Regions from separate parts of the Homo sapiens genome. Here all the other regions are linked to region 4. Evidence: promoter capture Hi-C in 16 types of primary human blood cells and fetal thymus (Javierre and others, 2016). All regions are on one chromosome and are shown on one strand. The core of a region is centred on a gene start or on the middle of the fragment in contact, and the rest is flanking DNA. Distances in the headings are between cores, read along the strand shown.

The links. The method cuts DNA at HindIII sites, captures the fragments that hold promoters and counts their contacts. A CHiCAGO score of 5 or more calls a contact.
Region 1: a contact is called between a fragment that was not itself captured here and the fragment with the promoter of NEO1 in region 4, in 1 of 17 cell types (M2 macrophages). The highest score is 5.6, in M2 macrophages.
Region 2: a fragment that was not itself captured here is called in contact with the fragment with the promoter of NEO1 in region 4 in 1 of 17 cell types (endothelial precursors); the score reaches 5.1 in endothelial precursors.
Region 3: a fragment that was not itself captured here is called in contact with the fragment with the promoter of NEO1 in region 4 in 1 of 17 cell types (megakaryocytes); the score reaches 5.1 in megakaryocytes.

What each region holds. Positions count from the first base shown.
Region 1 is chr15:72,831,827-72,838,176 of GRCh38, forward strand. LOC107984801 (a long non-coding RNA gene) reads left to right here and starts at 2,122. Exons shown (of 3, transcript XR_001751596.2): 1 at 2,122-2,273. RefSeq lists an enhancer at 3,204-3,705. The HindIII fragment of the contact is 3,138 bases long and covers 618-3,755 here.
Region 2 is chr15:72,859,729-72,866,186 of GRCh38, forward strand. No RefSeq gene overlaps it. Among named protein-coding and RNA genes, the nearest start is that of ADPGK, 79 kb to the left of the region's middle. The HindIII fragment of the contact is 915 bases long and covers 1,282-2,196 here.
Region 3 is chr15:73,233,386-73,239,773 of GRCh38, forward strand. It overlaps NEO1 (neogenin 1), which reads left to right. Exons shown (of 29, transcript NM_002499.4): 8 at 2,962-3,121. Among named protein-coding and RNA genes, the nearest start is that of MIR12135, 63 kb to the right of the region's middle. The HindIII fragment of the contact is 298 bases long and covers 4,142-4,439 here.
Region 4 is chr15:73,049,400-73,056,362 of GRCh38, forward strand. NEO1 (neogenin 1) reads left to right here and starts at 3,064. Exons shown (of 29, transcript NM_002499.4): 1 at 3,064-3,406. The coding sequence starts at 3,277. RefSeq lists silencers at 2,184-2,233, 2,294-2,363, 2,454-2,773, 3,004-3,383. The HindIII fragment of the contact is 4,913 bases long and covers 1,228-6,140 here.

The DNA.
Region 1 (6,350 bases), core at 937-3,436, 220 kb before region 4:
AATCTTAGGAAATAATTGGGGTGGTTGGTTGGCTGGAGGAGAAAATGAAATAAGAGTTGGGATTCTCTGGGGCTGCCACTGACCCACTGGGTCATCTTGACAACTTTGTTCTGTCTCTCCTGGCCCCTGGCTCCCTGACCTCAGCCTCCTTCACTTGGCTATCTGGAAAGCAGTTACTTTCTCTCCTGGCCCCCCGTTTTCTCTCTTTGGCATGTGGGAATTAAAGACAAAAGGTCTCAAAATCACTTTGAACTCCATGGAGGGTGCCAAATAATCTGAGGACATTATTAGTATAAGACAATTCCTTTGAAAATGGAAATTGCGTATCACACAATCTCTCAAACACAGGGTGGAATTAATGAGCAATTTGCTCAAGATTCACAACTTCAAAATGATCTTCCAGGTGGCCAAAGGAAATTCACATTTACACTTCAATCAGAAATTTTTTTGTAGAATGTAAGGGGGGAGGGTTTAATTTTCTGAGATCACAAATGCCTATCCCCATCCCAAGGAGAAGAGAGCCCGTGATAAAGACCGCCCTGGTATCTGTGAACTCTCCAGCTAATTAGAAAAGTGAATCTAATTTCATGGATTTCAGCTCCTATTAATTTATCCTAAGCTTGTTGGTAATGAAGCCATGTGTTTGTTTCTTAAGAAGGAAACATCAGAGAGGAAGAGAATGGGTGTGAGGCTGTGCTGTTTATTCCCTTACCTTCAATCTATTAATTGAGGAAATAACATATGATTTAATATATATTACAATGTCATCAACACAGCACTTGCTTTAGCTACTGATGGAGCCCTGTGTGGTTATCTCACATAGGCTTACAGTGCCTGCCACAGCTAAGAAAGAAGGAATAACTGACAGGGAAGTGACCAACAGGGTCTGCTACCTTCCTAATTTCTACTGCTTCATTCTATCCTGTAATATTCAGCAAACATCTATTGAACACCTTCCATGTTCCAGGCAAGCTAGGCTTGAACAAGACTGATAGGGATTTTAGAACCTATGTACGACCATCTTAAACACATAATTATTCCAAATGATTATTTACAATTGTGATAAGGACTTTGAAAAAGAAGTAGTGTGTTTTGTACTTCCCCTTTCCACATAGATATCTTGTTAGCCAGCTAGAGAGGAAACTTAAGACATCAGAGACTGGCCTGAGCTGTCTTTCATAAATCCTCTGTAATCATTACAAGACAAAGCTCACCTTGGTACCTAGATATTATGTAGAGTATTAACTGCTCAGAGTTTAGCAGTAGAGATTAGTAAAAGTAAGTAAATGTTCAAATAAGTGTAAAATTCTGAAACAGACTAGTATCAACAGTATCTGGACAAACTTGGCACTAAACAAAGCAAACTGGAGGCTCTGGCCTCTGAGATGAGAAAGTTCGTCCCCAGATACAACACAGAGACTGACAAGAGTAGACAACAGAGTCTAGCTCAAGACAGAAGTGTTAAATTCTAGTGCCATGGCCAACATTAGCCCCTTGTTTCAGGAGATTTACATGTAAGATTTTCTCAACATCAGCCATGGTTAGAACTGTAGTCCCGAGGGAAACCAGCCATTCATTTCAGGGAAATGTGGGTGTTGACAAGGGAACCCTTGCAGGAGTGTTCTACAGGTGGTCTCCATCCTGCCCAGTAAGACTTGGCTATGGGAGTGAGCTGTGTGAGGGGGGCCAGGCAAACAGCGATGAGATCCCTTTATGTGGAAAATTATATTTTCCCAAAGTGGCCACAATCTGTTTCCTGTTTTTTGAGAACTTGCTACTGCTCCATCAAGATGTGGATTCTGTGTCTCCTCTCCTTGAAGCCGGATGGCCCTTTGTGACTGCCTTGATGAATTAAATGTGGTGCAAGTGATGCTGCATGACTTTGAGGCTAGGTCATGAAAGGAGATGTGACATCTGTCCCACTTGCATATTTATATTCTCTCTCTCTTTCTCTCTCTCTCAGTGCTTGCCCTTGGAACCTAATCTCCATAGTGTGAGGAAGTTCAGGCCATGGAAAGACTACAGGAGACATGAGGGGAAGTCTGCAGGGGGACTTTTGAGAAACGTTTCCTCACTTCTAATAAATAGCTCAGGAAAATATGGTTTCTCTTCTTTGTCCAGCTGTGATGCCTGGGAACTTCTGTGGCAACCTTGCTTCCAGCCAATACACAGAGTGGGGCAACTCTCAGAAAACCATTGAGAAGAGAGTCAGAGTGCTGAAGTACCGTGTCTGGAATCCTGTCTTCCCAACTCCGTGTTTCCTGATCTATCAGGTAATAAACCCTCTTACATGCTAAGATACTTTGAGTTGAGGCGTTCTGTTACTTGTAGCTGAAGTAACATTCTCCCTGATTTGGAATCTGCTCCCTGAGGGCTTTGGTCAGTTCCTGCCCTCTATGTGTGTTCTGGGGACCTGGGCTCTCCCACAGGAGTCATTAGGCTGCAGAGAGCCCCCCAGAGCTGTGCTTTGGGAGTCAGAACAGAGACTTCTGGAGTTGGATCCATTTTCTAGGAGTGTTCATGATTTCAGCAGAACCTGTTTTATTACTTCTTCTAGGGTTACATGTGTGAGCTGAGCCTTTGTACTTTAGAGATCATTTCCTGAGAATGAGAAGTGGAGAAGGGGGCAGGGAGTCATCCTTTATTTGTTATAGTCCCAGAGACAGGTGACATGAGAGACTTTCCTTGGTGGCAGAGGATGAAGGAGGAGGGCATGAACTGTGGAGTCAGATCCAGGATTGAACCTTGACACCTTCCTTGCAGGCTGTGTGACCTTAGGATGGTCACTTCACCTTTCTAGTTCTCAGTGATCACATCTTAAAGTGGAAGTACTAGTCCTATTTCAGAGGATGCAATTGGAGGTTTACAGCCTGTTATCTGATCTGCAACTATGTTTAGTCAGCTGACTGAGTGGTTTTTTTTGAAAAAATTGAGTTTATTCACGGGTGTTTACAAATATAAAAACTTACCAACTTGTAAACTTCAAATATCTGGAGTGTGTTGTATGTCAGTTATACCTCAATGAAGCTGTTAAAAGTTGAATTTGTTGTTTACAATCAGGAACGCTGGAATGTTGGTTTCTTTGGGGGAAAAGAGGGGAAATATTTGGCAATGCTGAGCCCACCTTTTTGTGAGGTTGCAGAGGGCTACCTCCTTCAGACAAGGCATCCCTGCTTCAGTTTGCCATGGTCCCACCAGCACCTCTTGCTCAGAGTGAGTTTTGCTGCTGGCCCTCTGGATTTGAGTTTGTGACCTCTGACCTACCTCATGTATTTATATGTAAGCCTGGATACTCAGAGAGTGGTCTGTAGACCAGCTGCATCCTGAGAGCTTGTTAGCAGTACAGAATCTCAGGCCTCACCCCAGGCCTCCTGAATCAAAATTGCCTTTAAACAAGATCCTTGCACATTCCTTGTGATCCTTGTGATTCTTTGCACCTTCAAATTTAAAAAGCACTGCCTCTGATGATCAGAAATCATGTCTAAAAGTCATCTGGCCCAGAGTAGGCACCCACTAAGGGTAAACTCTTGCTGTGTCATTTAATCCACAGGGCAGTTCATTGTTCAGAGGAGCTCACACTTAAACTGTACTCAGTGATTCTCCTGGATCTCACAGCCAATAGGGGGCAGAGCTGGGATTCAAACACAGGGCTGTGACAGAGATTTATGCTCTTCCCTCTCTACCACCTGCCCCCCTAAGAAGAGAAAGAAAGCATATGCAGAGGGAGAAGCCATAGAAATCACCTAGGAGACCCAAGCTTATCTCTGGGGATAAGATCAGCCCTGTAGAGCAGGTGGCAGGCTCTCCCCAGGGCTACCTGAAGTTTCACTCCTTTCTCTCAGGGCATGGCCCAGAGCTTGGTGCAGAGTACAGTCTCAATGAGGAAGGGGGAAAGGGAGGAGATAAGGGAGGAGGGGGAAGAGGAGCAGGGGAGGAAGGAGGGATGATATCAAACAGGCATGTCTTCAGTTACCTGCCCAGCCCCATGCCCTGGGTGAAAGATAGTGCATTAGTCCATGTTCACACTACTATAAAGATACTACCTGAGACTGGATAATTTATAAAGAAAAGAGGTTTAATTGACTCACAGTTCTGCATGGCTGGGGAGGCCTCAGGAAACTTACAATCATGGTGGAAAGCAAAGGGGAAGCAGGCACTTTCTTTACAAGGTGGCAGGAGAGAGAGCACGTGGAGGACATGCCACGCTTGTAAACCATGGGATCTCATAAGAGCTCCCTCACCATCGCAAGAACAGCATGGGGGAAACCGTGTCCATGATCCTGTCACTTCCCACCAGATCCCTCCCTCAACATATGGGGATTACAATTCAAGATGAGATTTGGATGGGGCCACAGAGCCAGGCCATACCATATCAGATGGTTTATCCATTAGGACTTGCATTCAGTCAAGAGATGGAATTTAAACCTGTAAGTATTTATTATTTTTTTAACCCCACACAACAAGAGTGATAAGTAGTGGTAGTGTTTTAGTGGTTCAAAGATTTGGATCCGCAGTCTCTGTTTCTCTTGGCCATTTCCTCATGGTCACAAGATGGCTGCTGCAGCCCCACTTATCAGGACGTGGGCAGGAAGAGAGGAAAGCAAGTCTTTCTTAGAAACCTTTTAATGTATGTATGTCTTATTGGCCAGAGGTAGGCTAGAAAATATAATGTTTAATTTAGCCTTTTTTTTTTTTTTTGAGACAGAGTCTTGCTCTGTCACCCAGGCTGGGGTACAATGGTGCAATCTCTGCTCACTGCAACCTCCACCACCTCCTGGGTTCAAGCAATTCTCCTACCTCAGCCTCCCAAGTAGCTTGGATTACAGGTGCGCACAACCACGCCTGGTTAATTTTTTTTTTTTTTTTTTTAGTAGAGACAGGTTTTCACCATGTTGGCCGGGCTGGTCTTGAACTCTTGACCTCAAGTGATCTGCCCGCCTCAGCCTACCAAAGTGCTGGGATTACAGGCATGAGCCACTGCGCTTGACCTGTTTAATTTAGTTTTGTCTTTAGCTGGGACTCTTTGTTCTGTTGATCCCTTTCTCCACCCCCACCTTCCTGACAAATGAGGTTTATACTAACAAGAAAGGAGGACACGGTTATTGAGTAGACATCTGGCAATGTCTGCCACGAATGGGAACATAGGACCTAATTCCTGATTCCTTGTTGACCTGGAGTAGTTCTCCCTAGTCTGGAGGTAGCTTGCGCACTCTCTTGGGCTCAGCTTTGCTCTGGGAATGAGAAGCTGTGCCTCCTTTTGTCCCTCCCAATGCTGTGGCCCAGCAAGGCCTTTGGAGAGAATCCATGTGTCTGGGGACAGCTGGACCACAGCCTCCCCACCCTGGCTGCACACCTGTTGGAAGCTATATTTAGAGCAGTAAGTCTAAATCTTGGGGCAAGGAGAAGAGAGAAGCCAAAGGGGCAAGAAAAAAATGAAAGATGCAGCCCAGAAAAATGGGATGTTATTCCCTGTTGTGCACAGCCACAGCCTACTCTGGGCTGGTTCTTAAGAAGAAGGAAGGAATAGCTGTGGGCACTTGTGGGGGCCAGGCTGGAATTAGGAAAACCGCTGTTCACAGGATTTGGAGAGTTATAAACTCTGCCTGCGCTGGCATGAAGGTCTGTCCTGAAAAGTCCTAAAACCCCTTCTAGAATTGTAGAACTGGGGCCCCTGAACCTTTTGACTGTGGCACTCACAGGCAGGGTATAAGACTTCGTGCTCTCCCCTCCCCTCAAATTTCCACTCAGGAAAAAACTCAAGGATTATAAAGAATGGAAAGAAATAAAACAGATTGAATTTGCCGTGCTGCTAGCAATACATAAATGATTCACTTAGTAGTTACTTTAGAATACGAACATACTAGGCTGGGCGCGGTGGCTCACACTTGTAATCCCAGCACTTCGGAAGGCCAAGGTGGGTGGATCATTTGAGGTCAGGAGTTCGAGACCAGCCTGGCCAACATGGTGAAACCCTGTCTCTATTAAAATTACAATAAATTAGCTGGGTGTGGTGGCAGGTGCCTGTAATCCCAGCTACTCAGGAGGCTGAGGCAGGAGAATCATTTGAACCCAGGAGGTGGAGGTTGCATTGAGCCAAGATCGTGCCACTGCCCTCCAGCGTGGGCAACAGAAGGAGACTCAATCTCAAAAAAAAAAAAAAGAATATGAACATACTAAAGGATTTTTGTACTATAAAACAATTTCCTAAAAACTTAAAAATAACTCTCAATAGTTTTGTTTTACTTATGAAAGTAGCTGATATTTGCTAACAGCCCATCATAGGGATATGAGTGATTAAGGGTTGAACATCAAACTTAGACGGCCTTGATGAAATACAGGAAAATTGCAGG
Region 2 (6,458 bases), core at 489-2,988, 190 kb before region 4:
AATCTGCTCTCCGTAGGCAAAATATGGGGAAGATTGGTGCTCTTCCATCAGGCCCCATGACCCTCCTTTGTGGAAATGAGCAGCACGGGCCAGTCTTCTAGAAAGATTGTCTTTCCGACGCTTCCTGTAGGCAGGTCCAAGGCTGTTGTTCTTTGCCTGTCACCTCCGTGGAGCCACTGCTTCCGTCCCAAGAGCTTGGGTAGTAGGCTTCTGGTCTGGAAAGTTCTTACTGGCACTAGCAGAGTCACAGGCATTCACTGGGGAGGGGGCCAGGTGAGGCTGGAGTCTTGTTTGAAAAGCAGAGTTGGGATGCCTTTAGAATAATCAGTGGTGAATCCTCACATGGCCTCAGTCCCTGCGTCCCTGAGCCCTGCACCCAGCATGTTGTACGTCCACGTGTTTTTGTGTGTTTGCGTGTACAGATGCTCCTTGACTTATGATGGGGTTATGTCCCCATCAACCCCATTGTAATTCAAAAATATTGTAAGTTGAAAATGCACAGCCGGGCGCGGTGGCTCACGCCTGTAATCCCAGCACTTTGGGAGGCCAAGGCAGGTGGATCATGAGGTCAGGAGTTCGAGACCAGCCTGACCAACATGGTGAAACTCCATCTCTACTAAAAATACAAAAATTAGCCGGGTATGGTGGCATGCGCCTGTAATCCCACCTACTCAGGAAACTGAGGCAGGAGAATTGCTTGAACCCGGGAGGCAGGGGTTGCAGTGAGCCAAGATCATGCCACTGCACTCCAGCCTGGGTGACAGAGTGAGACTCCATCTCAAAAAAAAAAAAAAAGAAAAAGAAAATGCACTTAATACCCTGATAAACCTATCTAAGGTTGAAAAATCTTAAATCCAACCATAATAAGTTGGGGCCCATCTATAAAGGCGATAAAAGTGGGGACTCCTACCTGGCAAGTAGCCCCATAGTTAAAGAAATTGAAAATTTTCCCTAATGCAGATCATCTGTCATCTATCTACCTATCTAATCCCTAATAAAATCTACTATCTATCTATCTATCTATCTATCTATCTATCTATCTATCTATCCATCCATCCATCCATCCATCCATCCATCCATCCATCCATCCATCCATCAACATCTATCTATCTTCAATGGCCAAGTAGCTCTGCATATCAAGGAACTCATAATCTAGTTACAAAGACCAAAATCACAAATGAGACGATTAACAGATACCATGAGACTGTTATACAGTTATGCTGAGATACCTTTTATAAATGCCCCAGGGATTCAGAAAAGGAAATCAGAATAGCTGATAAAAGCTTCATTAAGGAGAGGGGATTGACCAGGGCCTTGGAGGGTAAGAGAGAATTTGAATGGGCAAAAAGTGTGTGTGTGTTTGTGTGTATGGAGAAGTTATAAGGGGGCCGGGATAGGGAGGACATGAGGAAGGGCCCAGAGGCAGTAAGGATGCGGAATGTAGGGTGAGGAGGGAAGGAGACAGCTGACCATGTGCAGAGCGTGGGGGGAGAAGTTGTGAAATCAGGGACAGATTGTGAAGACAGACTTAGCGCAGGTGGCAGCGGGGCAGGCAGTGGGTCTCTGGTCCACGTCAGACAGGGGCTGCATGAGTGATCTGAGCTGTTACATGCCCTTCTCACCTGTTCTTCAGCCTCCCAGGCAAAAATGGGGACTTACCAGGTAGGAGTCCCCGCTTTTATCTGAGTCCTAGACCTTCTACTTCAAGCCTCTCAGGGCTGCTTTCTCTCTTCCCTTCCATCTTTACTCAGCTTTCCAAGAGCCTCTACTCCTTGTCCTTCAGTTCTGTTATACTCCAGCCATTTGCTGTCTTTGTGCCTATATTGACACAGCTGAGCACTACCCCAAAGCCTCCCATGGCCATGTGCATTGGAGCCATTGTAACTTCATTGTCTCCAACAGTTCCCTCCATGACTAGTAATCTTTCTATGTCTCTAATGGCCTCTGTTTCCTGCTCCACACAGGCCATTACAATTCTTCTCTCAGACTCCAACCCCACCATTCCCCTGCCTGCTGCCCTGCAGCCCCTGTCACCATCAGCAATAACCTTGCGAATGCCCCAACTTCCTGCCATCAAACCTAAACCTCTCTGAACTTGCACCTATATTTTCCTTCTCTCTCCTGACACCACAGATAAATCTGAGCCCTTCTCTCATTTTTCAGGGACCACTCTTCCCTCCCTTGCTTATATCTGTAAGCTTTACCTCTCTGCTGGTCTCTTCCCATCAACATTTCAATATGTTCAAGGCTTTATTATCTTAAAAAAAAAAACCCTCAAGTTTTCTCCTTTACTTTCCATCTTTCCCCCTTTGTCATCTCCTTTCTTTCTTTCGCAACCACATTTCCTGAGTGTTTTCTGCCATCATTGTCTCACTCCCTTCCATGCCTACTCTTCAACACTTGGTCATTAAATTTCTGTCCCATCCTGTCCATTGAGATTGATTTCCTCAAAATCATTGGGACATGCTTCTGCTAAATCCAATGGGCATTTCCATTTCCTGTTTGTGTGACCCGCTAGCTGCACTTGGCACTGTGGACCATTCCCTTCTTCCGAGTCTCACTTCCTTTGTCTTCTGTCACTCTCCCTATTTTCTTCCCATCTCTCTGGTCACTAATTTTTTGTCTCCTTTAATGCTTTTGCTGAATGTTGCTTGAATGTTCCTGCCCTTTGGGATCCTTCCTTAGGCCCTCTGCTCTTGTCAGCCTTCATACTTTGACCAGGCTCTGTCAGCGTCTAACCACGATGACATCTATATAGTCAGGACTTTGGGTTGCAAATGACAGCAACCCAATTCACACTAGCTCAAGCAAAACTAAAGAGAAATGTTTGGCTAGCATAATAGGCTAGTTTAGAAGTAGAGTGAAACTCGGCATGTCTGGATCTAAGGACTCAAATGATGTTGTCAGGCCTCTTTCTCTCTGTATTAGTTTGTTCTCACGCTGCTAATAAAGACATACCCTAGAGTGGGTAATTTATAAAGGAAAGAGGTTTGATTGACTCATAGTTCCACATAGCTGACAAGGCCTCACAATCACGGCAGAAGGCGACTGAGGAGCAAAGTCACATCTTACATGGCAGCAGGCAAGATAGCTTGTGCAGGGGAACTCTTATTTATAAAACCACCAGATCTTGTGAGACTTACTCATTACCACGAGAACAGTATGGGGGAAACCATCGCCATGATTCAATTATCTCCACCTGGGCCCGCCCTTGACATGTGGGGATTATTATAATTCAAGATGATATTTGGGTGGGGACACAGCCAAAACATATCACTCTCCCACCATTTCCACTCCAGCCCTGTCTCTATCATTGTCTTGGCCTCATTCTCTTCTGTTGCACAGGATTTCTCATGGAGTCTGGGGAGGGCACAGGGTGATCATAAATGACTCGGCCTTTTAGCATCCTAGATAACTACTCTGGAGGAAAGAAAGAACTTCTTCTCCCATTCCTGGGAAAGGACAGTGGTTGATCTAACTGGAGTCACATGCTGACTCAAAGGACCTGAATGAATTTGGGGTAGTAAGAATTGCCAGCCCCCCTGGACCACATGGAATTGTGGAAGAACAGATCCCTAAAGAAAAAAAGAGTGCTACTGCCAGAAGAAGGGAGAGGAATACAGGATGCACAAAGCAGATATTTACCATAAAAGCTCCTATTTATGTTTTCCCATCCAGACCTTTACCCTGCATTTCAGAATTATAGATATCTTCATTTGGATGTTGCAAACTCAGCAAGTCTTTCTTTACACAAATTTCCTAGAAAATAAATCCCTACACAAAATGCCTATGGTAAGGCTGTATTGGGTGGTACAAATCCAGGGTAGCAAAGTATAAGAGAAGTAGGCACATGGGGCAGAGGAGGAGGGAAGCAAACATGAGATGGTGTGTTACCGAGTGTTTGGGGTTGAATTGTGTCCTCAGAAAGATATGTTGAAGTCCTAACTCCTAGCACTGCAAATGTGCCCTTATTTGGAAATAGGGTCTTTGCAGATGTGGTTAATTATATTAAGAGGAAGGCTAGCTGGATTAGACGGGATATGATTGGTGTCCTTATAAGAAGAGGAAAGGGCACGCAGAGGGGAGGAGGCCATTTGAAGACAGAGGCAGAGATGGAGTAAAGCTGCCACAAGCCAAGGAACACCTGGGGCCCCCAGATGCTGTAAGAGGCAAGAAAGGATTCTCCCCTAGAGCCCTCAGAGGTAGCATGGCCCTGCCAGCATCTTGATTTCCAACTTCTGGCCTCCAGAACTGTGAAAGAATAAATTTCTGTTGTTTCAAGCCACCCAGTTTGTGGTACTTTTTTACGGCAGCACTAGGAAGTGACTGCACCAAGCTAGCCACAACTTCGTTAAAAATGCAGGCAATTTTGGGAGGCCAAGGTGGGAGGATTGCTTGAGGCCAAGAGTTCAAGACCAACTGGGGCAACATAGTGAGATCTCCATCTCTAAAATAATAATAAAAAAAATTAGCAGGGCATGGTGGTGCTTGCCTGTAGTCCCAGCTACTTTGGAGGCTGGAGGCTGAGGTGGGAGGATCATTTGATCCCAGGAGTTTGAGGCTGCAGTGAGCCATGATCACACCACTGCATTCCAGCCTGGGCAACATAGTGAGACCCTGTCTCAAAAAGAAATAAAATAAAAATGCAGCCTGTTGCTTGGGCACATGGAAAGTTTTATAAACAGGACTAACAGAAGAACCATGCCTTGGAACACTTCTTTGGGGTTGGGGGTAGAGAGAAAAAGATTTAGCTGGTGGCTTCTTTCTGTACTTATAAGCCAGGTCTGTTTCATGGTTAACTCCCACCCATTTCTGGGTTGTGTTAATTGGCCCCTCCAGGGATCCACTGGAGAAACCAGACCGCAAGCTTTCAGTCTGGTGCTTCAGCTGGACCAAAAAGTGATCAGAGAAGCCGTAGTCTCCAACGGGTTCAGCCAAGTCCAGGGATGACTGGAGCTTGAAAGAGCTGTTGATGAAGACAGAGTGGGATGAGGCAGAAAAGCTGTAGTACATTATGGCATACAAAGAACTAGAGATGCAGCTTTGCCTAGGAACCTGGTGGATGAGCTGCAGGACCTGGGCTGGAAAAGAATTAAGCATTTGTGGCAGCTGCCCATGGAACATGTGGAGAATGTGCTGGTGGCATTGCTACCCAAGTCCACCTCCTGCCTACTACATGACAAGCCAGTGTCCTTGTTACGGCTGCACTATAAGCAGTTCAGATCGCCAAAGGGCACTGCTCTAAGTCCAACTTGATGTGGGATGAGATGAGCGTACACTCATGATTGCAGCTGGAGATCCTCATTGACCAATGATTAAGACCTGTGGGGTAGACGGAGATCAGCAAATCTTGGGGTATGTATATAACAAGGCTTAGTATAACATCCAAAGTGCATTCATCTTCCCTCTACTCTAAACACAAACCTGCTATTTCTGTGCTTCCTGATTCAATGATTGGTAGCACCAGAGACTCAGTAACTTGAGCCAGAAATTCAGAGTTGTTCTTGACTTTTCTCTTTTCTCCCGTGTTCAATCCTTTACCAAATGCAGTCAGTTCTGCCTCCAAAATATCTCTTGACTCTGACCACTTTCTGTCCCCATTACCACATACTCTTCCAGGCCACCTTCTTTTTTACCTTGGATATTGCAATAGGCTCCAGATGCACTCCTTACCTTTTGTCTCATTCACCTCCAAAATGTGCCCCTCCCTGCAGGCAGCATGATCTTCCCAAACACAGACTAATCAAGTTACACCCGATAGACAGTTCTTCCAAGGCTCTTTGTTGCTCTTTGTATAAAGATCCAAACACAAGTCCCCTGAAGCTCTGGCTGCCATGTAATCCCTTGCCTCTTGTCTTGCCACTTCTTGTCTTAAGTGCTACAATACAGCCAGGCTGAACTTCTTGTGGCCTTTGTACCTATGATCTCATTTCATCTATCTGTTCACTCCTCCAGCGAGTGTCTGGTGAGCGCCTGCTATGCCCCGCAGTGGCAGGCACTGCGATCCCAGCAGGGATGCTCTTGCTCTTGAGCCTTTGCACATGCTGTACCTCCTGCCTGGAATGTTCTCCCCTTGTGTAGAAAAAGCAAACAGACTGCTCACAATCTTCTCCCTTGCCTTCCTATTATAGAGATTAGAAAACGAAGACTCAGCTTTCCTTGTAGAGGACACACAGTTCTGGCCAGTGAGATCAAGGCAGAAGTCCATAGAGAGGGCATCCTTTCCTGAATAAAAGTCCTCACTAAAGGCTTTCTGCCTTTCTCTCTGCTTTCCACCAGGAACACGACTGTAAAGCCAATGGGTACAACAGCTGCCCTGCAACTATGTGGCTGCAAGAATGATCAATGATCAGTGATAAAGGACTCGATGCTAAGGAGAATGGGTGGAAATAAGGGCCTGGTTCTAAGGCCGCTGTGTATAGCCATGTAGGTTGTGTGTTGCACAATTCTAGGAGGCA
Region 3 (6,388 bases), core at 3,041-5,540, 190 kb after region 4:
TTTGTGTCAACCAAAGAGATTAAAATATTGCCTTTTGTAATGAGATTCTAGAAACATTGTCTTCATCGTACTCATGTTCTCCCTGAATTTCCTTCCATTTATTAATTCAATAAATGTACACTTGGTTATCTAAAGTATACAGAGGCATGTTGAGTGATTCCCAGATGAAATTGATACATATTTTGTCCTTAAGGAGCTTATAGATTCGTGGAAGTAATACAATGTAAACATGAAAAATGGAAATAGGGTGTGCTGGATGCCGTTAAAGAGTTATAGATCTGTGCTATGGAAGTTCAGTAGGGTAACTGAGTTTTCCCTATCTAAGTGATTCTGTTATCACTCATTACTCCCATCACCTCGTCCTCCCTGCTTGCATTCCCTCCCCAGCTGCTTTCCTACTGAAATCCTTATGTTGTTACTCATTCAAGCTAGTCATAGTAAATAACATGTACGCAGAGCTTCCACATGCACTTTTCTTGTTTGGTATTTGTCTGGTTCATATCAGCTTGGGGTTTAGGTAGGGAGCATTATTATTCCTAATTTACAGATAAGGAAACTGACATCAGAGTGATTTACCCAACCTCGCATATTAGAAGAGTCAAGTTTTGAACATAAGTCTTTGTACTCGAAGTCCTGGGCTCTTTCCGGTATGCTCTGCTGCCTCTCACACAGCAAACTTTCTCTCCTCTCTAGCCAGTAGATAGTTGGGAAGAATTAAGTTTGGTGAGTTGGGTCAGAATTGGAGGCAGCTTAGTGTGTTTCTAGATGGACATGCAAATGAGGCTGCAAAGCAAGACTGTTCAGGCTACTTTTTGAATCATTTCCCAATAAGGGTTTTTAATGACTTTTAATTTTACAATAATCGGAGATCCATATTTTCATTTGCATCTCATTTATTCCATAGGTGTTGAATTGTGACTTTAAACACAGCATATTCAAAACCAAATTCATAATCTCCCCCTCAATCTGTTGTCTTCTCTGTTAATGACACCTCAGGCTCCACAGTCTCCTAAGCTAGTAACTTGGAAGTCTTTGACTCCTTCCTAACCTTTATCTCAGCATCTAATCCTATCGTTTCCAGCCTACCTCATAGGGTTATTGTGTGAGTAAACTGACAAAATATATAAAGACAAACTCTGAAAGCTGTGAATGAGAGGTATTTATTTCCTCTAAGGCAGTGCATCTGTTGATGTGTACAGTACTACAAGGCCTCAGCAACCATTCAGAGTTAATGTTTTGTAGTGTTGACACTTGCTTTAGTGAAGCATGTACTTAACGTCGGGGCTAAAACTGCATTATCTTACATTCTTATAACAATCTGCACTCTTAAAAGCACTACCAAGGGAGGAGAAAAAAAAAGGGAGCATGAGAGAGAACAAGGCTCTCTTTTGTGATTTGCACAAGAACTGGAAGTCAAGTTTTCAGACTCTGCTTGGCTATATCCAGAGGTCTTTTAAACTGAAAACCAAAGTTGATTTTATTAATACCACTCCACCACTCATTCTCTGTGACCTAGGGCAAGTGATTTAGCAATGTCAGTCTCTACATATAAGTTAGAGATAATGATTGTACCTATTTTATAGAGCTGCTGTAAGGATTGAATGATCTATATAGAGAGCCAGAGTGCCATATGTAAGGTATTCAAGAAGTGGTAGCTATTGGATTACTCTTCTCCCTTTCCACCTATCTAGAGATTTTAGGTTGGTCCTCCTTTGCCATTTCCCTGAGATAGATAATTTATTTCACGTGGCGTATTTATTTAGACTGCATCACATTACACTCTCGCAGTTCACAGACATTTCCAGGAGGTTGTTGCTCCACCACTTCATTCAAAACTAGGTTCACGGTTTTCATGTTTTCCTCTCTACATCTCTCCTACTAATTTCCCTTTTAATGTTCGAACATGATTCTGATGAAGTCTTTCAGTTAAAAATTGTGAGATTAAACTTGTACTCTCTAACTCCGAAGTGAAAGAGATTTTAGGTTCAATATTAGGAATAAAATTCTACTATCAGGACTGTTGTTTTTGTTTTTCATCAGTAGCATGGGCTGCCTTGGAAGTTATGAAGTTACCCATGGCTACCGCTATACAAAAGTGGCTTTTGACTAGCAGCTTTGCCTCGCCACTGCTTCCTTTCTCCCATCCAGTCCTTGAGGTCTGCAAGCTGTTTCAGTATACATCGCAGTGAAGAGTGTAACAAACAGATTAGCTACCTGACTTGCAATTTTTTGGCTTTGGAATTTTTGGTTCAGGATTTTATACTGTCCTAGCTAAATGAATTGACAAAACAGCAAGGTATAACTTACAATGAAGAAGTTTATCAACCTTCCCCCGCAGGATTACCAAATACAGAGGTGCAGGGTTTAATATTAGACTAAAGTTGAAGATGTGGCCCTCAATTCTCCTGCAAAGGAGCTCTGCAGTGAAGTCACAATAGCCATGAGCCTCTCAGTGTAACTAGGGTCATCCATACTATTCCATATGTTAAAGTAGAAGAAAATAGTGAAGTCTTGTCATTTGCAAGACTTTTATGCAAAGTTTGACAGATGTTGCATGCTGCTTTCAGGATTAAGAAAATTACATGGGCACTGCTGTGCCTTCTGTGAGAAGTTTTATTCTCAGCTGTCACCCTCCTTGTCCCTTGCCCATAACCATTATAGTGGCCAGAAAGTCTGCTTGCTCTACAGTGATGTGTTTTGAATAGTGCCCATTAGTTTTCAGTAGTTACCCTGGCCTGCATGTTAGCCTTCAGTTTAATGGCCTTTTTTATGTTCATTCATTTTATTTTATTTCCCATCGTGGTTTTGTTTATTTCTTTTTTGTTTTTTGTTTTTTCTGTTCTCTTTTTTAAAACCGTCGTGGTTTGCCCTTCATATTCCCCAATGTTTGCACATGACAAGATGTTGCCATCCCAACATTACCTCCCACTTCACTGACCAGTGCCACTACTGACCATCTAGCACCAGCCACAACGGGACCACTGCCTTCAGCTCCTCGGGATGTCGTGGCCTCCCTGGTCTCTACCCGCTTCATCAAATTGACGTGGCGGACACCTGCATCAGATCCTCACGGAGACAACCTTACCTACTCTGTGTTCTACACCAAGGAAGGGATTGCTAGGTAAGTGCCTGTGTGTCTGCAGCCAGTTGGCTGCCTCTTGGTCACGGCAGCCTTGTCATGCTCACCCTGGCTCTTGGTATCTGTACCAATTTTTAGTCCAGAAAATAAGATCACTGAGATGCACCTTCCCTAATTTTAGGTCATTAAATAAACTCCCAAACAGACTAAAGTCCTGGTAGTCTCTCCTTTTCTGGGATGACTTAGGGAGAGGGTAGATACAGCTATTGAGGTGGACGTATTTAAATGTAAGAAGGAGTGCCCTTTTTTCATAAGATTCAGTCAGTATAAATTCTAGAGATTAAGGTAGACTTAATTTATTAAAGTAAACTTAAATGAATATTTGCCACACCCTTATGTGGTGTGGGCTGCGGAGCTCCAGGGGTTCTCCTTGATGGAATAAGAGTAGTTAGTGATGACTTTTCCTAAAATAGCATTTTCATTACATTCCTCTTCATTTCCACCCCCTCAGGAGCTCACATTGCTCATAGGGGAAGATCTATAATGTCCAGGCTGCTTTGTGCCACAGGCTGGCTTCACTTTATCTGTCCAACTTGCTTTTCCTTTTTCCCCAATGTAACTGACTTTCTAGTGAAACCAGTCTAATCACTATAGCCTTTTTTTCCAGTGTGTCCTCTTCAGTCACTTCTTGCCCCTTTCTCAGCTGAAGGTAAATTCAGTTAATCCTTCTTGGCCCAGGTTAAGCCCCATGAAGCTCTCAAAGATCTTTACCCACCTTTTCAGCACATAGAGCATTTCCCTTGTACGTGTATTTGTATCCCTAATATTGGCACTTGATTATGGTAATATGTGATATTTTACTACCTTAAGCTGTTATTCTTCAATTATGTTCTATGTATTTGTGCTGTTTTCCCAACCAGATTATAAACTCTTTGGAAGGAACCATGCCACATGCTGACTGTTCACACATTGCCGAGTAGTAAATTCCTTCACTGTGCTCTTCCAACCAGAATAAGAAAGCTAAGATACGTGTTTTAGTAGGAGCCCTAATACATCAGCTAAAGCTTGTATTTCCATTAGCATGCTTATAGTTGATGTACATTGTAGTTAATACCAGACTGGCAAGTTTAGCAAGTGCAGGACCCTTTCTTTAATACTCTCAAGAAGTCTAAGTGGCATAATTTAACACCAACAGATGGGAGTTACCTGAATGCTATACTGTGTGTTTTGAGTTTTACAAGGGTAGAGAAACATAGTTCTATACATAAAAAAAGGTAAGACATTCCTACCAAACAGCAAGTTTCAATATCACCATTAAAATATCTTCAATAGACTTTGAAATCTCATTGAAAATCTCATAAGCTTTCACAGAAGGAAGAAACCATTTAGTAATTCTGCGTAATAAGCTTTATTTCTGCAGTAGGTTTTTTGCTCTTATTGTGCGTTCTACCAGAAATGCATTTTCCTCACATGAGTTACATCTGGCTTCTTATCTATCATCTTTAGATGACATCTCCTCAGGCCTTCCCTGAATACCAACCCAAACTTAGCCCCTCGGTGACTGTCACACAGTGGGGTATCAGAGCCAGCCTGTTCCCAAGCTAATTGTTAAATGCTCGGGAAATTTTGCAAACCTAATGACATGACTTGGCAGCTTGAAATTGGGCATGGTGGGAGTGTTTACAGTGACAAATGCTGCAAACCAGAGCCAATTGTTAAACATTCACCAGAACACCACTGCTGTCACATCACCCTATTTTTTGGTATGTGTGTGGTATTTTTTTGTTTGTTTCGCTTTTAGTTTGGGTTTTTTTTTTTTTTTTTTTTTTTTTTTTTGAGAGCACTTACTACTCTCTGAAATTTTCTCTTTTATTAGCTTATTTATTCTGTCTGTCTTGTTCAATAAAATTCTCCAGCACCTGGAACAGAGCCTGGCATTTAGTAACACTCAGTAAATATTTATTAAGTTAATACATTAATTTCAATTCGTGGAGAAATAATAGATAATTCAAGTAATCATGTTGAGATTGATTATCCATTTGGTGGGAAAAATAAAAGTTATGTCTCTGTCTTAAATTATAGATGGATTAAGAGATAAATATTTTTAAAATCTATAAATATATTAGAAGAAAATATAGAAATGATTTTTATCATTTGGAGAACAGGAAAGGGCTTTTAAAGGGAGATAGCAAATCCAGAAGCCATAACAGGAAAGAGTAACAAAGTTACAAATTATAAATAAAAGATATCCCAAGAGACAAATAATACAAGCAGATGATTCATAGTACTGGAAAGCCCATTAGAGTTAAAAAAAGGTTTTCACCATCTCAGGCGATCTTGGAAGCAAAATGATGGGGGTTTTTTTGTTTGTTTTTATTTTGTTTTGTTTTGTTTTGTTTTGGAGACAAAGGTCTCGCTGGGTCACCCAGGCTGGAGTGCAGTGGCACTATATTGGCTCACTGCAGCCTCCGCTTCCCAGGTTCCAGCGATTCTCCTGCCTCAGCCTCCCAAGTAGCTGGAATTACAGGTGCCTGCCACCATGCCTGGGTAATTTTTGTATTTTTAGTAGAGATGGGGTTTCACCGTGTTAGCCAGGCTGGTATCGGACTCCTGACCTCAGGCGATCCACTTCAGCCTCCCAAAGTGCTGGAATTACAGGCATGAGCCACTGTGCCTGGCCAAGTTATCATTTTTCATCTATAAAGCTGGCAAAAATTTTAAGTTGATAATATCCAGTGTTCAATGAGTTGACAGCTAGGAGGAAAACCACTCTAGGTTATTGGTGGCAGTATAAATTAGAATAGTCTAGGGAAGGTGATTTGGCAGAATTTTAAAATATTTTAAATATACATAGCCTTCCATCACACTTCTAGGTAACTGTCCTATAGACATACAGATATATGTATGCATTGGGCCCTCATACAAACACGTTTATTTATAGCATTGTTTGCAAGATTATAAAAGGAGACTATGTAAATATCCACTGATAGAAGAATGGGCACCTAATATACAATCGTGCATCACATAACAACGCTTCAGTCAGACAGACTGCGTATACAATGGTGATCCCATAAGATTATACCACTGTCTTTTTACTGTACCTTTTCTGTGTTTAGACACATAGACACTTGCCATTGTGTTCGCATTGCCTACAGCGTTCAGTACAGTAACATGCTGTGCAGGTTCGTAGCCTAGAAGCAATAGGCTATCCCATACAGCCTAGGTGTGTGGGATATACACCTAGCTATACCATCGAGGTTTGCATAAGTGCATTCTGTGATGTTCACACGATGAAATCACGTGATGCAT
Region 4 (6,963 bases), core at 1,814-4,313:
ATTGTTGTTGAACTAAAGATATGTGATCAACTAAGCAACATGTGACAAGCAAAATTAATATTGAGCATGCTTGTACTTAAAAAGGAGCACACATCCTTTTTAATTACGCTTAATCAGAGATGGCTCCCTAGAGCAGGTGGCTTCTGAAGGAGAACGGGAGAAAATAAAAATTCTTACCTAGTGGAATGTAAAGGGCAAATATAAAAATAACAATCTCTGTGCAGAAGAAAATCACTTTCTTAAGACTGGGGCAACTTCTAGTTGAAGTCTGCTGTGACTAGGAAGTGTTCTATCCTGAGATCTGCTAGTCAGGGGACTAGCTTTCTTCTTCTCAACCTCGGACACTGGGATTCAGCCAGGGAATCAGCTGCAGAATCTCATTACTGCCAGCAGTTAAACACTGAATTGTACGTCCTTTCTAATGTTGAAAAAAAAATCCTTTTACTATAGAGAATAAGATTCCTACCAAGTTTTATATTCATAGGCTTTAATATTTCATGTAATTTTTATATCAAAATACATTAGCATAAATTTCACAAGATATCAGTCTAGTTATTTTTGGCCTGCATTTCGATAACTTTTACAGACACACAATGGCCACTCTGTTTTCTTTGCTCTAAAGTTTCTTTGTGCACTTATTCCTTGAACATGGGCCTCATGTTCTAACTTTACTTAGATGAAAAAACTGTTAATTTCACCAGTGGTTTAATATCTCTTCATAGATTGATAGTTTAGACAACATAAAAGTGTTGATTAGCAGTATACGTGCAGGCTGAAGTATTTGTTGAAAATCTTGTTGGGAGAATAAGAATGATAAAAGAGATGCCTAAGAAAATCTTTTCTCAGATATGCTTTACTAAACAAAGAACAGGTTAATTACTCAATGATGATTTTTAAAGGGCATGTCGACAGTGTCAGTGACTTTGAAACAAAGTAAAGGAGCTGAATTCAAGTGTGTGCCTGAGTTACTTAACTATCTTGAACTGATTTAGGATCTGTAGCTTTAATCTGGGGCTCCATCTACTAGTGGTTTAATAGAGTGGGTTTTATTAAAATTGTGATTTAATCAGAAGCCAGAAATATACAACTGTTTTAAACTTTTTGATATTAACCTGATATACACAGTGGGCTGATAAATTAGTGAGACAGTTCATATAAGTCATATATGAAAATCAGTCTGTTATTAGCCACAACTCATGTATTTTTCAAAACTTGGAGATAAATGTAAGCTTCATCTCAGAAGTCATATTACACGTTATAGGTTTAATATAATGAAATTTTTCCAGACTTAGAAAAGATATCAGGAAATTAACATTTGCAAGGCAATTTACAGTTTTCAAAGAGCTTTTCTCATTAATTATCTCAGAAAACTGAATAATGATGTGATTATTAAAGGTTAATTAAGCAAATACTTGTGAAGTAATTGGGAGGTAATCTATTTCTAATTTAACAGGTCAATCACGGGTATTTAGGAAATATTTTTGCTGGTTAACAACTCTAACCAAAACAAAAAGGTATTTAAATGGTTTCCCTAGTGAAAAACCATAAGCATGTGTTTCCTCTATTAAGTCAATTGTTTCAAAGAACTAGCATGAGAATTCCTAATTTCACCGTTTTGATGATTTAAGGTTTTATGAAGATTCTGAGCTCTTCCCTCCCGACGTTAATCCATGTCTTACATTGTTCATTTTGGCGCTTTAGAATAAAATATCTTTGGAAAGTAACTATGAGAAAGCACAGAGGGATATGTTAGTGAAATAGCCATTTTCTTGTGGGAAGCAAGACATTTCGGTTATCGACTACACAGAAGAGTGAATAAAACCCAACGCCTATCAACCACCAAACGTGACTCTGCTTGCATAATCATACAAATAAATTTTCTTTAAAAATTTTTCATGGGTGCAGTATATAAAATGATCAATAGTCTCATCAGCAGTGGAACTACAAACTGCTTTCTCCTAACTTTGTGTAGCCTGGGTGCTGCCTCACGATTACTAAGTGGTTTAAAATCATATCCCACTTGCTCCTTGGTTTATCAGCGAAAGACGTGATTCCCAGGTAGGAAAACGCCAAGTGTCCCGCAAAGGTACAGGTAAAACGTAGCAGTTACTGCGAGAAGACTGGCCCCGGGGAGTCCCAGGGCTCGGTCGGGGCCCCCGCACGAGCTGAGGAAGTGGACAGCGGGCACCTTTGTCTGTGCCTAGTTCCCTGGACCCGGGCCGAGCGATGCGGGTGGGGGCGCGGTTCGGGCGGGTCCCGGCGCTGCCCGGGGGAAGCGCGCGGCGACGGCGGCCCGGCTTGGGAGCCGGAGGTCAGCGGCTGCGCGGCCGGCCCCCTCCCACGGGAGCCGCGCCAGGGCCCAGCAAGAGTCGGGCGGGATCGCTATTGTTTTTGGCGAGCACATAAATCCCCGGGCCGACCCACTGCGCACCCAGGTTTCCTCCCGGAGGCCTTTCGGTTTCCTCTGAGGCCCTATATAGAGGCTCCAGGCCCGGACTGTGCAGAGGTGCGCGCCCACGCCGGCCTCCCGGACCAGCCTGAGCTCGGAGCGCCTCTCGCCCTCAGGTCTCTGCAGCCAGAGGCATCTGGGGAGGTGAGGGGGGAATTTGTCCCCGAGGCGAGGAGGAGGAGGCGGGGGCGCGCGGAGCCGAGGGGCTGCGGCGAGCGGGCGGGAGGAGCAGGAGGATCCGCTTCTCCGGGGTTTCCCTGACGCCAGCAGCAGCGCCCGGCGCGCGCGCCCCGCACCCGTCAGCGGCTCCGGGGAGAAGGGGGAGGGGAGCGGGCCCGCCACGGCCCGAGAGGCGGCAGCCGGGATTGGAGCGGGGGCGGGCCGCGCGCGGAGCCGAGGGGGTGCGGGCGAGGCGCGCGCGTGCGCGTGTGCGCGCCCGGGACTCCCGCCCCCCGCCCCCGCCCCCGCCCCCGCCGTCCGCGGTCTCCGCCCCCCTCGCGCTGGTGTGTGGAGCCGGAGTCGGCGGCGGGTGGCGGCGCCTGGAACCTGGAGACCGACCCACCGCCCCCCCCCCCCCGCCCCGGAATGTACTGACTCCCCTTCTTCGCTCTCCTCCCCTCCCCGCCCCCTTGCAGGAGGGAGGCGCCCTGGAGTCTCCCCTCCAGCGAGAGGGGCTGCGCGGGCCGGGCCGGGCCGGGCTGGGCTGGAGCAGCGGCGGCCGCGGGAGCCGAGCTTGCAGCGAGGGACCGGCTGAGGCGCGCGGGAGGGAAGGAGGCAAGGGCTCCGCGGCGCTGTCGCCGCCGCTGCCGCTCACTCTCGGGGAAGAGATGGCGGCGGAGCGGGGAGCCCGGCGACTCCTCAGCACCCCCTCCTTCTGGCTCTACTGCCTGCTGCTGCTCGGGCGCCGGGCGCCGGGCGCCGCGGCCGCCAGGAGCGGCTCCGCGCCGCAGTCCCCAGGTAAGCGGCGGGCGCGGGCCCGGGGGTTCGCGGGGGCGCGGCACCGGCTCAGGCGGCCGCGGCTGCGGTGTTTTTGTTTAGGATCCAGGAGGAAACGTGCAGGAACTTCTCTGCCTCGGCTCCGGTTGCCGAAGAGAAAGGGGATCGCGCGTGGTGGGGAGGAGAAGGGCGAGAGGGGGCGCCACCGGGGAAGGGGCGGCTGCCGGGGGGCAGGTCGGGGGCGCAGGGGTCTAGTTCCCAGCTTTGTACCTGGAGGCAGGTTCACCCCTCGCCTCTCTCCCCTCCCCCAGGCTCATCCCACTTGTAAGAGTGGGACATTCTTGTGCTCACACTAGCACCAGTAGAGGCCACTACACACCTCATTAAATAAACAATCAGACGGCCAATTCATTAATTTTCAGGAAAGGAAAGGGGAGGGGGCTTGAGCTCCTGGTTCCCTGGCCAGGGATTTCCCAGCTTCCGAAGTCTCGAGGAAGAGCTGGCTAGTCTCGAGGGACTCCTCGCGCGGGGATTGGAGCCCGAGTCTGCGGAAGAGCGGGGGTGTCAGAGGGGCACAATTGCCCGCTCACAACCCCTGGTGTTGATTTAACGATGAGGACGCCTTGGAGAGCGGCTCGGAGTGATCGTATCTGTTAGTGTTTCCGTTATGAAATGCCTCTTCTTTCCTGGGGATTACAACTATATTTACAGCCTATTAACCACTCTTAACCAAGGGAATTGTCTAAGCATCAGATTTTAGGTACTTGTACAATGTTTTCAGATGGCATTGTATAAACATTGAACCTCAAAAGCCATTTTCAGTTCTTTTTTGGAATATTATAGATTACTGAAACCACCTGCATTCCTATTAAGGGGACCAACGAACAAAAATGCCAAGCCTTCCGGGAAGGACCTTACGGTATTGTTGAGCAGGATACACTCAGCAGTTGAAAGGCAAATTAGCATGTAATCTGTTAAAATTATTTGACCAAGGTGGTGTACCATAAAACTTGACAAAACTTTCACTCGTGTGAGATATGATATTTTTACATTTGAAAGCAGTCTTACCGCTGAACCAGTACTTGTTTTTCCCTGATTTATATGAAATAATATTTAAAATCACACTGCAAGGTAACTTGACTGATAAACTTTTCATTTCCTTGCAGAGTGTGTATGTAGCTCATGGCTTTTGCCAATGTTAAAGAACAGCTTTAAACGTAAAGTACCACTCGGTATTCTCTAAACAGCTACGTAAACAATAGTGTTTTAATGTCAAATTAAACATCACTTATGTCATGATGTACCCTTATACATTCAGTCCGTATATGGTTTAGAACACATTTTGGTGCTGAAATGCAGGTTACTGATCCAACTGTCTCTTAGATGAGCAAGAGAAATATAACTATTTTGGAAAACAAGTTCCTGTTACTCATGATCTATTTTATATGGAAATTCATATGTAGTTCACCAAATTTCAAGTTTTTGTTTAAAGTTTTGCCGATAATTTTGTAAGTAACTAAAATGCTAGTAATTTTATTACTTAGGATAATAAAAATAATGCAAGCAGTCTCAGGAAGTGGTCTTAACATCTGTTTCAACATTAACTCAATTGACAGGTTTTTATTTTGCACAGATGAGGTGCAAGGCATATGCTCTCTGCCTTCATGGAGTTTACAGTCTGGTGTGTGGGTAGGAAAGATAGCCATCCATCTACTGATTATATAATTAAGTAATTGTGATAAGCACTACAAAGGAGAATAGGTTTTCACAAAGTGGGTACTGGAGTGACATAACCTAGTCTGGGTGTTAAGAGTGTCTCACAAGAACTGAGATCTGAGGAGTGGGTAGGAGTGGAGGTGGGGAGGCTCACAGGTAATTAGTCGTTTAATTGGGTCTAGAACATAGATCTCCTGATTCTCGGTCCAGAGTCCTTCCTGTAAACCGCTCTGCTTCATTACAAAAGCGAGAGGAATAACTGCAATAAGGAGGGGTTGGTCAGTTCTGCCATAAAACTGCGGAAGAGATCAAGAGACTGGAGAACTGAGTAAGCAGCAACTGGAACAAGCTGTCCGCAAATCAGATGTCCTTTGTCAGTAGTTTTATTTTTTTTATTTTTGTAGAGTGATAGACTTATAAATCTTTTTATAGGGGATTATAGTGAATAGATTGTAGGGAAGTGGACATGTTCAGTAGTAGAAGGTGGAGAAAAATAGAGATGTGGGACAATAGGATAAATGGAAAGTGTTTTTCCATCTGAGGTTATAGACATACGGAGGTGGAGGAAAAAGTAAGAAGTAAAGGACTGGTGATAGAAAATGGTCAGCAAGGGAGGAGGGTTGGAATTGAGTAGGAACATAATCTGGTATTCTGAAAAAGGGCAGATTACTGAAAAGATATGTAGAGACCTTGGGGAAGATGACATGGCAGCAGCCTGTGCAATGCATGTCTTCTCTATTTAGAGTGAACATTCTTCACCGAGGACTCTGTAGCTTCTGCCTGAACCATTTATTTCATGATGTGATTCATTGCCTTACAGGGTAGTCCATTTCTGTGTTGAATAACTTCTGTTAGAAAATGTTGCTTTGTACAGTACATTTCACTGTAGTTTTCACCCTCCCCACCCTTCTTACATTTTTTCCTCTTTGCTTACCTTTTTCAGCATTACTCTATCTTCAGGTTAATCTCTTCTCTGATTAATTCTTCATTTGTCTTTCTGGCTTTTCTTGAACTCACTCACTTAAATATTAGTATCTAAAGCTTATCTCATTATACATACTCTGTTTGCCCTCAGTTGCCACCTGTAAGCTAAGGACTCTCTTAGTCCACACTTTCTCACTTGCCACTCGGTACCTTCACTAAATAGGATCTTAGGTTACTGAAGTCCGAAGTTAAACTCTGTGTCATTTTCCCTCGTGCTTCCTTCATCCCCATTCTCTAAACATGAACAAACCAGTTCCTGGCCCCTGTGTCTCATGTTGTTGGAAGGATTGCATGGATTTGTCTTCTTGTGTTGCCTGTCTTGGTCATCACTGTTCATCCACTTGCCCAAGCTGAGATCAAGAAGACCTCCTCTTCCCATTGCCATAGCGGATAGTTCTTTTTGCTTTTTACCTCTCAGCTGTTTCTTGACTCTGAATCGGTATCTTTTCATCTTCATCCCCACCTGGACTAACAGTAGTGGCTCCATAATTAATCTCTTTGTCTGTACTGTTACCCTCTAGAAGTCTGTCCTGCTAGAATGAGCTTCCTGAAATATTTTCCTGAGCATGCCACTCTCCTACTTAAAATCTGTTACTAGTGTTCTGTAGCTTGGGTGTTAGAACTCTTTGGCATGGAGATTGTGAGGCCCTTTGTATTCTTTACCTCTGTTCTCCCAAACCCAATAAAGCCTCATCTCTTGTCACCCCTAACATGCACCTTGCATTCCACCACTCCAGATTAACGACACAGCTTCAGATCTCCGTGCCTTTGCACATGCTGTTCTTTCTGTTAAGTCACTTCTCACCTTGTCCACTTCTGAAACTCCTTATCTAGTCAATGAATTTTTCTCTACCAGCTTTCTCTTCCAAAGAGAGTTA